Regions from separate parts of the Homo sapiens genome. Here regions 1 and 2 are each linked to region 3. The links are contacts of gene promoters, found by promoter capture Hi-C in human tissues and cell types (Jung and others, 2019). All regions are on one chromosome and are shown on one strand. The core of a region is centred on a gene start or on the middle of the fragment in contact, and the rest is flanking DNA. Distances in the headings are between cores, read along the strand shown. Region 1 overlaps FAM120A (family with sequence similarity 120 member A). Region 2 overlaps FAM120A (family with sequence similarity 120 member A). Region 3 holds the start of WNK2 (WNK lysine deficient protein kinase 2).

What was found. The method cuts DNA at HindIII sites, captures the fragments that hold promoters and counts their contacts. A contact is called where the count stands out against the background at its distance.
Region 1: a contact is called between a fragment that was not itself captured here and the fragment with the promoter of WNK2 in region 3, in 2 of the 25 tissues and cell types used here (dorsolateral prefrontal cortex and spleen).
Region 2: a fragment that was not itself captured here is called in contact with the fragment with the promoter of WNK2 in region 3 in 2 of the 25 tissues and cell types used here (dorsolateral prefrontal cortex and spleen).

The regions. Positions count from the first base shown.
Region 1 is chr9:93,494,465-93,497,629 of GRCh38, reverse strand. It overlaps FAM120A (family with sequence similarity 120 member A), which reads right to left. Exons shown (of 18, transcript NM_014612.5): 4 at 31-159. It also overlaps the pseudogene LOC100419516. Among named protein-coding and RNA genes, the nearest start is that of FAM120AOS, 42 kb to the right of the region's middle. The HindIII fragment of the contact is 5,712 bases long and covers 1-3,165 here.
Region 2 is chr9:93,475,717-93,478,565 of GRCh38, reverse strand. FAM120A (family with sequence similarity 120 member A) reads right to left here. Exons shown (of 18, transcript NM_014612.5): 3 at 2,228-2,310. Among named protein-coding and RNA genes, the nearest start is that of FAM120AOS, 24 kb to the right of the region's middle. The HindIII fragment of the contact is 3,682 bases long and covers 1-2,849 here.
Region 3 is chr9:93,182,355-93,185,507 of GRCh38, reverse strand. It overlaps WNK2 (WNK lysine deficient protein kinase 2), which reads right to left and starts at 1,369. Exons shown (of 30, transcript NM_006648.4): 1 at 1,123-1,369; 2 at 1-580. The coding sequence starts at 578. The HindIII fragment of the contact is 13,924 bases long and covers 1-3,153 here.

The DNA of each region.
Region 1 (3,165 bases), core at 142-2,641, 310 kb before region 3:
TTTTTTTGTTTTGTTTGTTTTTTTTTTTACCTGTGAATGCTGGAAAACATCTTTAGCTATGGCATCCAAGTCAGAGGTGTCCTGAATGTTGCGTACATAGTCAGCAACGGCTTTGATCACTACGTCGCAAGGTGGCAAGACCAGCTGGTGGGCCCGGACCTGAGAAAACAAACGTAAGTGTCAACAGTGGATGGTGAGCAACCAGTACCAGGCTAATCTGAATGCAGGAGCCAGAAATTCAACAAGGAGCTACCATCTAAGATCTTATCAGTGCCCAATGATTGTCCACTTGTAAGATCTTGGCCCTAAGACTTTCCTAAGCCGTTCACGTTCTGAAGCTCAAGAACTGGATTTTCCTTTCAGTGGATGAAATACAACTCAGCTGCTTAAACTGTGTTGGGTGAAAAGAGCATCTGACAGTCTTCCACCACTTCTGAGAAGTCCAAGACTTGTTTGCGATTAATTCCAAGGCCAGGACCTGCACCCATAACAAGCGAAGCACAAAGCAGCCCAGAGAGAAGGCCTGGAGCCACCATTCGCTCCCTTTCTTTCAACACCAACCAACAAAGATGAAGGCCTGCACAAGTAGAATCTTTAGATTAGAGCCCAGGACTCCCTGAAACTGTAAGCAGAAATGCAGTTACCAAGTCCTTGAATCCACCTTCAAAGGCCAACTTCAGCTCTAACTGGAGAAAAATGGTATCACTGCCTGTTGAGGGGCATGTTTGAGGAAAGTGACAAAGAATATCAAATAAAGAGTAGGAACATCTCATTAGCCAAAAACAGCTGACACTAGAAAAACGTAAGTTAACAGGTTGAAAAAGAAGACCAGCCACCTAATAAGAGCTTTGCGGTAGGCAGGACAATGACCTCCCAAAGCTGTCCACATCCTCCTCTCCAGAACCTGCGAATATGCTGCATTGCGTGGCAAAATTCAATGAAGGCTGCCTGTCAGCTGACCTCCAAATAAGAATCCTGTCCTGGATTACCCAGACAAGCCCAAGGGAATCACAGGGTCCTCAAAATGTGGAGAAAGGAGGCAGTGATGCAGCATGACAGGGCCTCAGATGCTCGAGGCTGGACGGGCTGGGATCCTCCCGAGAGCCTGCAGAGGGACCAGCCCTTGCATGTTAACATACAAGGAAAGGAATGTTGTCTTCATGCCTGTTGACACAACATTCATTCCACAACCCATAATGGATAAAGGAGTAATTTTGACACTCAAGTCTTATTATTAAAGAAATACATTTCATCAGGCTAGAACTGCCATAGAAAATGACTCCTCTGATGCATCTGGGCTAAGCACATTGAAAACCTTCTGGACAGAATTCACTACTCTAGTAAGTGAATGCCATTAAGACCATTCATGATTCATGGGAGGATGTCAAAATATCAACCTTAACAGGAGCTTGGAAGACTTGGTTGATTCCAACCCTCGTGAATGGCTTTGAGGGGGTTTAAGACTTAAGTGGAGGAAGTCACTGCAGATGTGGTGGAAATAGCAAGAGAATCAGAATTAGAAGTGGAGCCTGAAGATGTAACCAAATTGCTGAAATCTCATGATAAATCCTGAATAAATGAAGAAGTACTTGTTATGGACAAGCAAAGAAAGCACCTTTTTGAGATGGAATCTACTTCTGGTGAAGATGCTATCAAAGATATCAAAATAAAAGCAAAGGATTTAGAATAGGACATAAGCTTAGTTGATAAAGCAGTGGCAGGGTTTGAGATTAACTCCAATTTCATAAAACATTTCTACTGTGGGTAAACTGCTATCAAATAACATTGCAGGCTATAGAGAAATCTTTCATGAAAGGAAGAGTCAATTGATGTGACAAACTTGAATGTTGTCCAATTTCCTGAAACGGCCACAGCCACCCCAACCTCCAGCAACCACCACCCTTATCAGTCAGCAGCCATCAGCAAGACCCTCCACCAGCAAAATGATTCCAACTCGCTGTAGACTCAAGCGATCATAGCATTTGAAAGTATTTTTGATTAAGGGATGTATCTTGTGTTTCAGACATAATGCCATTACACTCTTAATAGACTACAGTACTGTGTAAACATTTCTATTACATGTACTGGAAAACCTAAAATTGACATGACTTCTCTATCATTCCCCTCCAGGCCCCTGCTCTCAAAGCCTCCATGTATGTCACAAGGTGGCTGCAGAACAGCAGAGTCCCCTTTGGTAAGTGCCTCTGCCTTTCCAAGTCTGTGCATGAGGAATGCACAAAACAGGGACATGTTCCAGTGAGTTATAACGGTGTATTAGGTTACTGTTATTTTGTTGTTGTTGAGGATCATGGTGGTATATTAGCTAACATATCTTAGCTAGACACTCTTTTAAGTGTTTTATGTATAGTACTGTATTAATTCTCACACATCTAATATGGCAGCCCTTGTTTGTGTTAGAGATGGTACCCTCCACAGGGTTCTAAGTGGTCAGTTGTGGCCCACAGGCCACTGGCAAGTGGCGGCAAACCCTTGGCAGCCACGGAGGGCCTGCTGCCCACCACACAATGCCTACTCAGCTGCTGCTGGCCCCCCTGTAGGCAGCAGTACTACTGATGTACAGAATCATGGGACTAGTGGCAGTGAAACTATGGAAACCCTGGGTGATCTGGGCATGCACTGCTGTGGTGGCCTTCACGTTCATGACGCACAGTGGGAAGAAAAGAGGAGTCGGCCCAAAGGTATTCAGCCCAGGGTGAGGTCCATAGAATGGCCAGATCCAAGATGTGGCTAGCACCCCAAGCCTGTGGTGGCCTAATGTCACCCGTGCCAGAGGCCAGTCCTCGATCACTCCAAACCCCCTGCTTGAGGGTTCCAAATGAAACAAGCAGGTCTTCCTACCAGGACCTAGGTGAGCTTCTGAAAGAGCACAGAAAAGCAGGCCTCCTGAATTTCCCCAAGTGACTGAACAAAGCAGGTCCCACATGCTTCACAGCATGATGGGGAAGATCTTCTGGGGCAAAGCAAAGATGATCTGAATGACAGCACTGACCACTGGCAACCTGCAGAGCTGCCCGACCAAGAAATTGTGAGATGGAAGCAATGCCTGCAGATAAGAAGGGGAAGATGAAAAGCCGGAGCAGGCAAAGACAGTAATGGAACAGGCCACGAATGCTGGAGTGAGGCAAATGACCTCCCTGTCCCACA
Region 2 (2,849 bases), core at 249-2,748, 290 kb before region 3:
GGCAGAGGTTGCAGTGAGCCGAGATCTCACCCCTGTACTCCATCCTGGGTGACAGAGCAAGACTCTGTCTCAAATAAAAACATTAAAGTGGCTAACAAATGCAATTTCTGAACTTATCTCAAAACCAGGTGCACTTGCATTTCATGTGTGACTTTAAAATCCTACAACGTATCAAGTCATCTGAAAAATAATTTAGGATTTCTTCTCCAATATGCCATAAAAGTACTCAGCTAATATCAAAATGCATGCATAAAGCTTGACTGGATCTCGATCAAAAAAAAAAAAACCTATAAATGACTCTGAAAAAATTTGAATATGGGCTTAATATTAAATGATATTAGACACTGCACTCCAGCACAGGTGACAGAGCAAGACCCTGTCTCAAAAAAAAAGATATTAAAGAATTATTAATTTAGTTGATGTCATAGGAGTAATATGATAAAGTATCAAAATGTCCTTATTTTTAGGAAGTGATGGAGCAAGCTGAAGTGGTGGAGCAAGCTGACATTTTCATGGGTAAAGTGTCATATCTGCAACTTACTTCCAAATAGTTTTTGTTAAACAAAACAAAACACAGACATATACTTTATGGCAAAATGTTTATAATTGTTGAACCAAGATGGGGGATATACGGATACACATTTCTCTATTCTTTCCACATTTCAATACTTAAAGATTTTCTCAACAAAATTTAGGAAAAACACACATATAATGATGTTATTCACTTGGCAATAGATTGAGCTGGTTTTCCAATAATTCTTCAAACAGCTCTTCACTTCTAACCCTGTGACATATGAAGCAGGGCTAGTTTAACTTAGACATACACATATAGCCAGAAACCTTGGGAGTATCTCACTCCTGCTCTTCAAAACAAAATAAATCTTGTAGGAAACAAGCTTTCATTTGTGTCTCACTTACAAAAGCATAATGCTTAACAGAGCTACTGAGCACAGGTGCAGTGCTCTTAAGTCCAGCTGATTACACGCTGCATTTCCCCAATCCACATTTCAATCATGGCATCACCAGAAGCTTAGAGTCCGAATGACAGATCACATCACTTCATTCATGAAAACATACAGGAGGGATTCTATGGCCAGAAATGTAATTTCTAACAAGAGAAGAAAAACTAATTTTTGAACAAGAAGTTGAAAACAGTCCATACCAAACCCCATTAGGGTGAAAAGGAGAACATTTTATAGCATGCCAGAGATGAAAAAGAAAAAGCATGCCAGAGATGAAACAGCAGGGAACAAAATGAAAGGAGGAAAGGAATTCTACTTCAGCTTTTGGGTATCACCAGAGTTAAAGGTAAATTAAAATGTAGGAAGAAAAACTCCCATTTGAAACTAGCCACCAATTAAAATTGTTTATGGAGGGAGGGTAATTACGACAACATTCAAAATTTTACAGCCCTTCGGAAAACACCCAATTTAACCGCCACTCTTTACTGTAAGGAAGCAGTCCCAGGGTGGGAAGCAGATACAAAGTCTAGGTCCCCATCTTCCTAATTCCCCAAGTCAAGAAAGGCACTTGAACTGACAAATGATCATTACAATCACAGGAGTCACTAACAAGTCCAAGCTGAAGTTTTCCAGTGCCTCGTGCATATCTCACTCATTACTCCTATGCTCACATCAAACACAGACACTTCCACTGCAGAAAATCAGAATTAAGTGCCTCATCTCTGATGTTTATTACTATCACAAACAGGAAGGGAATCAAAAGGGAGAAAAAGAATATTAAGTTTTAATAAAATAGTACAAATGGATCACTTCCATTTGAGTCTCCCTCATCATCCAAAAAGCTTTATAAACTATTTTATAATTGTAGAAAATTAGTTATGAAATTTATCAACTATGCAAAGATGTTGCTCTAAGTGACAAGTAACTATACTACCTAAAGACAAAATTAAAATTTTTAAGTAAGAAAATTAATATATAAAACATCAGCTCAAAGATTTCCTTCTATCTAGGTACACAGCACAAAGAATTCCTTAAGGGAAATTTTCAAGGACATTTATACATTTACCTAACATATAGGTGTTGAGAACAAGGGATGGTAGCATTGTTGCTTGCTTTTTAAGGCAGTGCAGATCCTGAAATTATGGGAAAACATGGTATTGCTAACTTTGTAGCATCACCAATAAAGGGCCTAACATGTTATTAAAGTAATAGCAAACTCACAGTTGATTATTACAAATGCTAGAAAAATAAAGTGAAATTTGTACCTTTAGTGAGGCTAGTGGATGTTCTGGACCAAGTAAACTCCAGTGAAAGGAAGCCAGATCTTCATCAGGCAGAATGTGATTTCCTGGAATATAAACATGGATAACATAAAAGCAATCATCTTAAGTAACATAGGGAAACTTTCAAAAGTGCTGCATATTGTCACCTATAGTAGAAAACTTTCAAACAGAAACTGAGAACAAATCTTCATCTCTTAACATAAAGCGACATACAGCAGGCAGAATCTTTGCAGCTGCTTCAAGAATGACGGGAATTTCTAGTGCAGTCCCAACAGCATTCAACCTAAGAACTGCATAAAACTGAAACAACTTCACAGCACAGTATTAAAAATAAACACCAGTTTGCAAAAGGTCAGTCTGACAATGTCAGGATATCAAATACCAATTAGATTCAAGTTTTCATTTGTTCATGAAATGACTATGGTTCAAGCTTTCATCTGTTCATGAAATAGCTACGGTTCAAAATTACATAAAAACACCAAATGTGAAATCTGCACAATTATAAAACCTTTCTTAGCAAGATTAAATGACAATGACTGCTGATTGTAACATGAATCAACACCCTTCTCCCATAATTTCCATCACCACCCACAAACATATGTGA
Region 3 (3,153 bases), core at 120-2,619:
CGGCCGTCCAGAGAGGTGGCCACGGCCTTGAGGTCGTCCTCGTCGTCCTCCTCCTCTTCGGGCTCGTCCCGGCGAGTGCGCCCGGGCTCAGGCTTCGCCTCGGCCGCCCCCTCATCCTCCTTCCTCACGGTCGCCGCCGCCTCCTCCCTGGGGCCGCCGTCGGGGGCAGGCGCGGTTTCGACAGCGGCTGCGATGGGGTCCGGGCCGGGCTCCTGCGTGCCCACGGGCTCGGGGCCGGCGTCCGCGGGGGCTCCGGGGGCTCCCGGCTGCGCTACCAGCGCTGCGGGCGCGGGGGCGGCGGGGCGTCCGCGGGCGCGCTCCGCGATGAGGCGGCGCGTCTTGCAGAGCAGAAGCACCCGGCGCTGCAGGGGCTGCGGGGGCTGCGGGCCCGGCGCCTCGGCTGCCTCCAAGCCCGGCGGCTCCTCCTGGTCCGACTCTACCACGCTGCGCCGCAGAAAGCGCTGGGGCCCCGGCCGCGCCGCCTTCGCCCGAGGCTCCGCCATGCCCGCGGGCCCCGCGCCGCGCCCGGGCTCCATCAGCGTGCCGGGGACGTCTCGGCGGCCGCCATCGCCGTCCATCTCTGTGGGCCAAGGACACACAGGCCCGCGTGAGCGCCGGCCCTGCCGCACCTGCCCAGGCCGCCGGATGAGACAACGCCGCCCTAAGCCCGCAACCTGCCCAGCCCCGGCCGCGGAGAGAGCCTGCGGGGGCCGTCTCTGGGGGCCCTGGGAAAGGGGGGCTGCAGACGGGACCAGAGGCTTGGGTTGGGGAGGAGGGGTCCGTGCCCTGCTCAGCCCCAGGCTGCGGAGAGGGACGGGCCTGTGGTGTCCCTGGAACCCTGGGAGAGAGGACCTGCTAGGGTGTCCCTGAGGGCCCCGGAGGCCGGCAGAGGGATCTCGCGCCCTGCCCAGCCCTGGCCCAGGAGGGTTCTGCTAGGCTGTCCCGGAGGCAGCTGTAAAGGGGATAGGGAAGCCCGGGGGTGGGAGGAAGGCAGTGGCCCGGCGGCGGCTCCACAAAGGACGCGGGCCCGGGGCGCGGGAGGGGCGCGCGGGGAGGGGGCTGCAGCGCCGCGGCGCGCACACAAAGGCGGCGAGCGGCGTTGAGGGGAGGCTCGGCACTCACAGGGCGAGCGGACGCCGTCCATGCCCGCGGCCCGGCGGCCAGGGCGTGCGAGGCGGGAGAGATCACGCTTCGAGGACGGGGTCCGAGTTCCGGGCGAGGTCCGCGCTGGGGTGGGGGCCGTGGCGCCGCTCCAGCTCCTGCGCGCTGCTCTCTCGGGCCGGGCCACTGCGGGGCCGCGCTCCCGCGTGCTCCTGCCGGCTTCGCGCGGCTCCGCTCCCGCACCGGCTCCGACCCGGCGCGCGGGGAGGGCGGGGCTCCGTTCGCCCCGCCCCGGACCGGCGCAGGGGGCTGGGCCTGGCACGCCCACCTGGCTGCGGACGGGCTGGCTGACTGGCAGGCGCGCGCGGCCACCTGCGGGCCGGCTACCTGGGCTCCCACCCGCGGTTCTTTGCTCGAGGTAGCGCTCCTGTCCTCTGAAGTTCTTTGGAACGCCCCGCAGGGCTGTCAGCTGCGGAGGACCCCGTTTCTTCCTGAGAGGAGGCAGCAGGCTCAACGCCTCAGCACGCCGCAGCCCGGCGCGCTAGACCTCAAGGCCCTGTGCCAGGACAGAATGGGCAGGCTAGGAAGAAAAGGACCAGGGGTACCGCCGCCCTCGGGAGCCCAGCCTGGGGCTAAGCCTGGTGGGGCTCAGCGTGTCCTTTCCTGCCCTCACTTCACCACCAGGAACCATGAGGACCTCATCATCACCCAGGGAGGCACTGGTGATCATTATGCCCATTTCACAGTCTAGAGCAAACTGAGGCGCCAAAGGCAGAAGTTATATGCTCTAAATCCCAGAACTTTCAAGACCGAAGCTGAGCTGGAATGCCTTGGATGGGATATGGAGAGGCTTCCAGAAGCCCCTTGACCCAAAGTGTTCTTCCTTCCCACCTCTGCCAGATGCCACCTCTCCCGAGAAGTCTTCCATGATCTCTAGCTCCTTCCTCCTCTAGACCCCCACGGACAAGCCCTCTCTTGGGCGTCTCTGGCCCTAATGCAGCAGGTGACCTGTGTCAGTAACCATACTGCTAAGTTCTGAGCCCTGCTCCAGGCAATGCCCTGAGCTAACACTTCACCCTTACCCCAGCCTCCATGATCCTAGGTGAGGAAACTGAGGCACAAGGGAGATACCAGAGTATTCTCATCTCAGTCCCCATCCCACTGGGCTGGCACCCCCATCAGATACACACACACTTCCAGAGATGAAAAGATGCTTGTGGGCCTGTAGGCCTTGGAGCCCCTGGCACAAAATAACTCATGTGGCATAAAAGCCAGCAGAGGCGATATCTCACCTTCACAATGTAGAGGGAAGAATATGCCAGGCCAACTGTTACCCAGAGAAGCAGGACTTCCTGGAGCCCCGCTGGGCACTGGCACTGGCTGAAACTAATTTGTGAGGGGCAACAGTGAACATCCCTTCCCAGCTCTGGGTTCAGCAATGCCACCCTGTAGCCTGAAGTCAGCAATGCTGGGAGTATTTACACTGCGGAAATTGGCAAACACCTCAAATCAGGACTTTTCTCCCCAGAGAGCCAGTGGTTAAATAGTGTGCTAGGTGTAGGGCTATGCATTTGGCACTTGCCTGTTATTTATATAATCTAATCTACCGTGTGAGACAGGCATTCATTCCGGGGCTCAAGTCCGCTGGCATGAGCCCAGAGCTCACACGAGGAGGAGGCCAAACAGCAGACGCCAGCTCTGCAGGACAGAGAGGCCTGAGGGACAGGGATCTAAGTTGCATCTCCTGGGGCAGGAGTCTTCCAGGTAGAGGTCAGGGGTGGAAAAGGATCTTTTCTGTCTTCCCTTTGGAGGCTAAAGACCCCCCAACCTTGCCCCTAACCAGCTGAGTGAACTTGGGCAAGTCCTGGTCCTTCCTGAGCCTCAGTATCTGGCCCTGCAGAGTGGGCTGATCATCCTGACTTGCCCACCTTAAAAGGCTGCCAATTCCTTGTAGATTCAGTCAATCTAGGAAGGGCACCAAGTCCACAGACCTGTTCATGATGGGTGTGTTCAAGCCTATCCAAGGGAAAACCAGGATGGGACAGAGCTAAG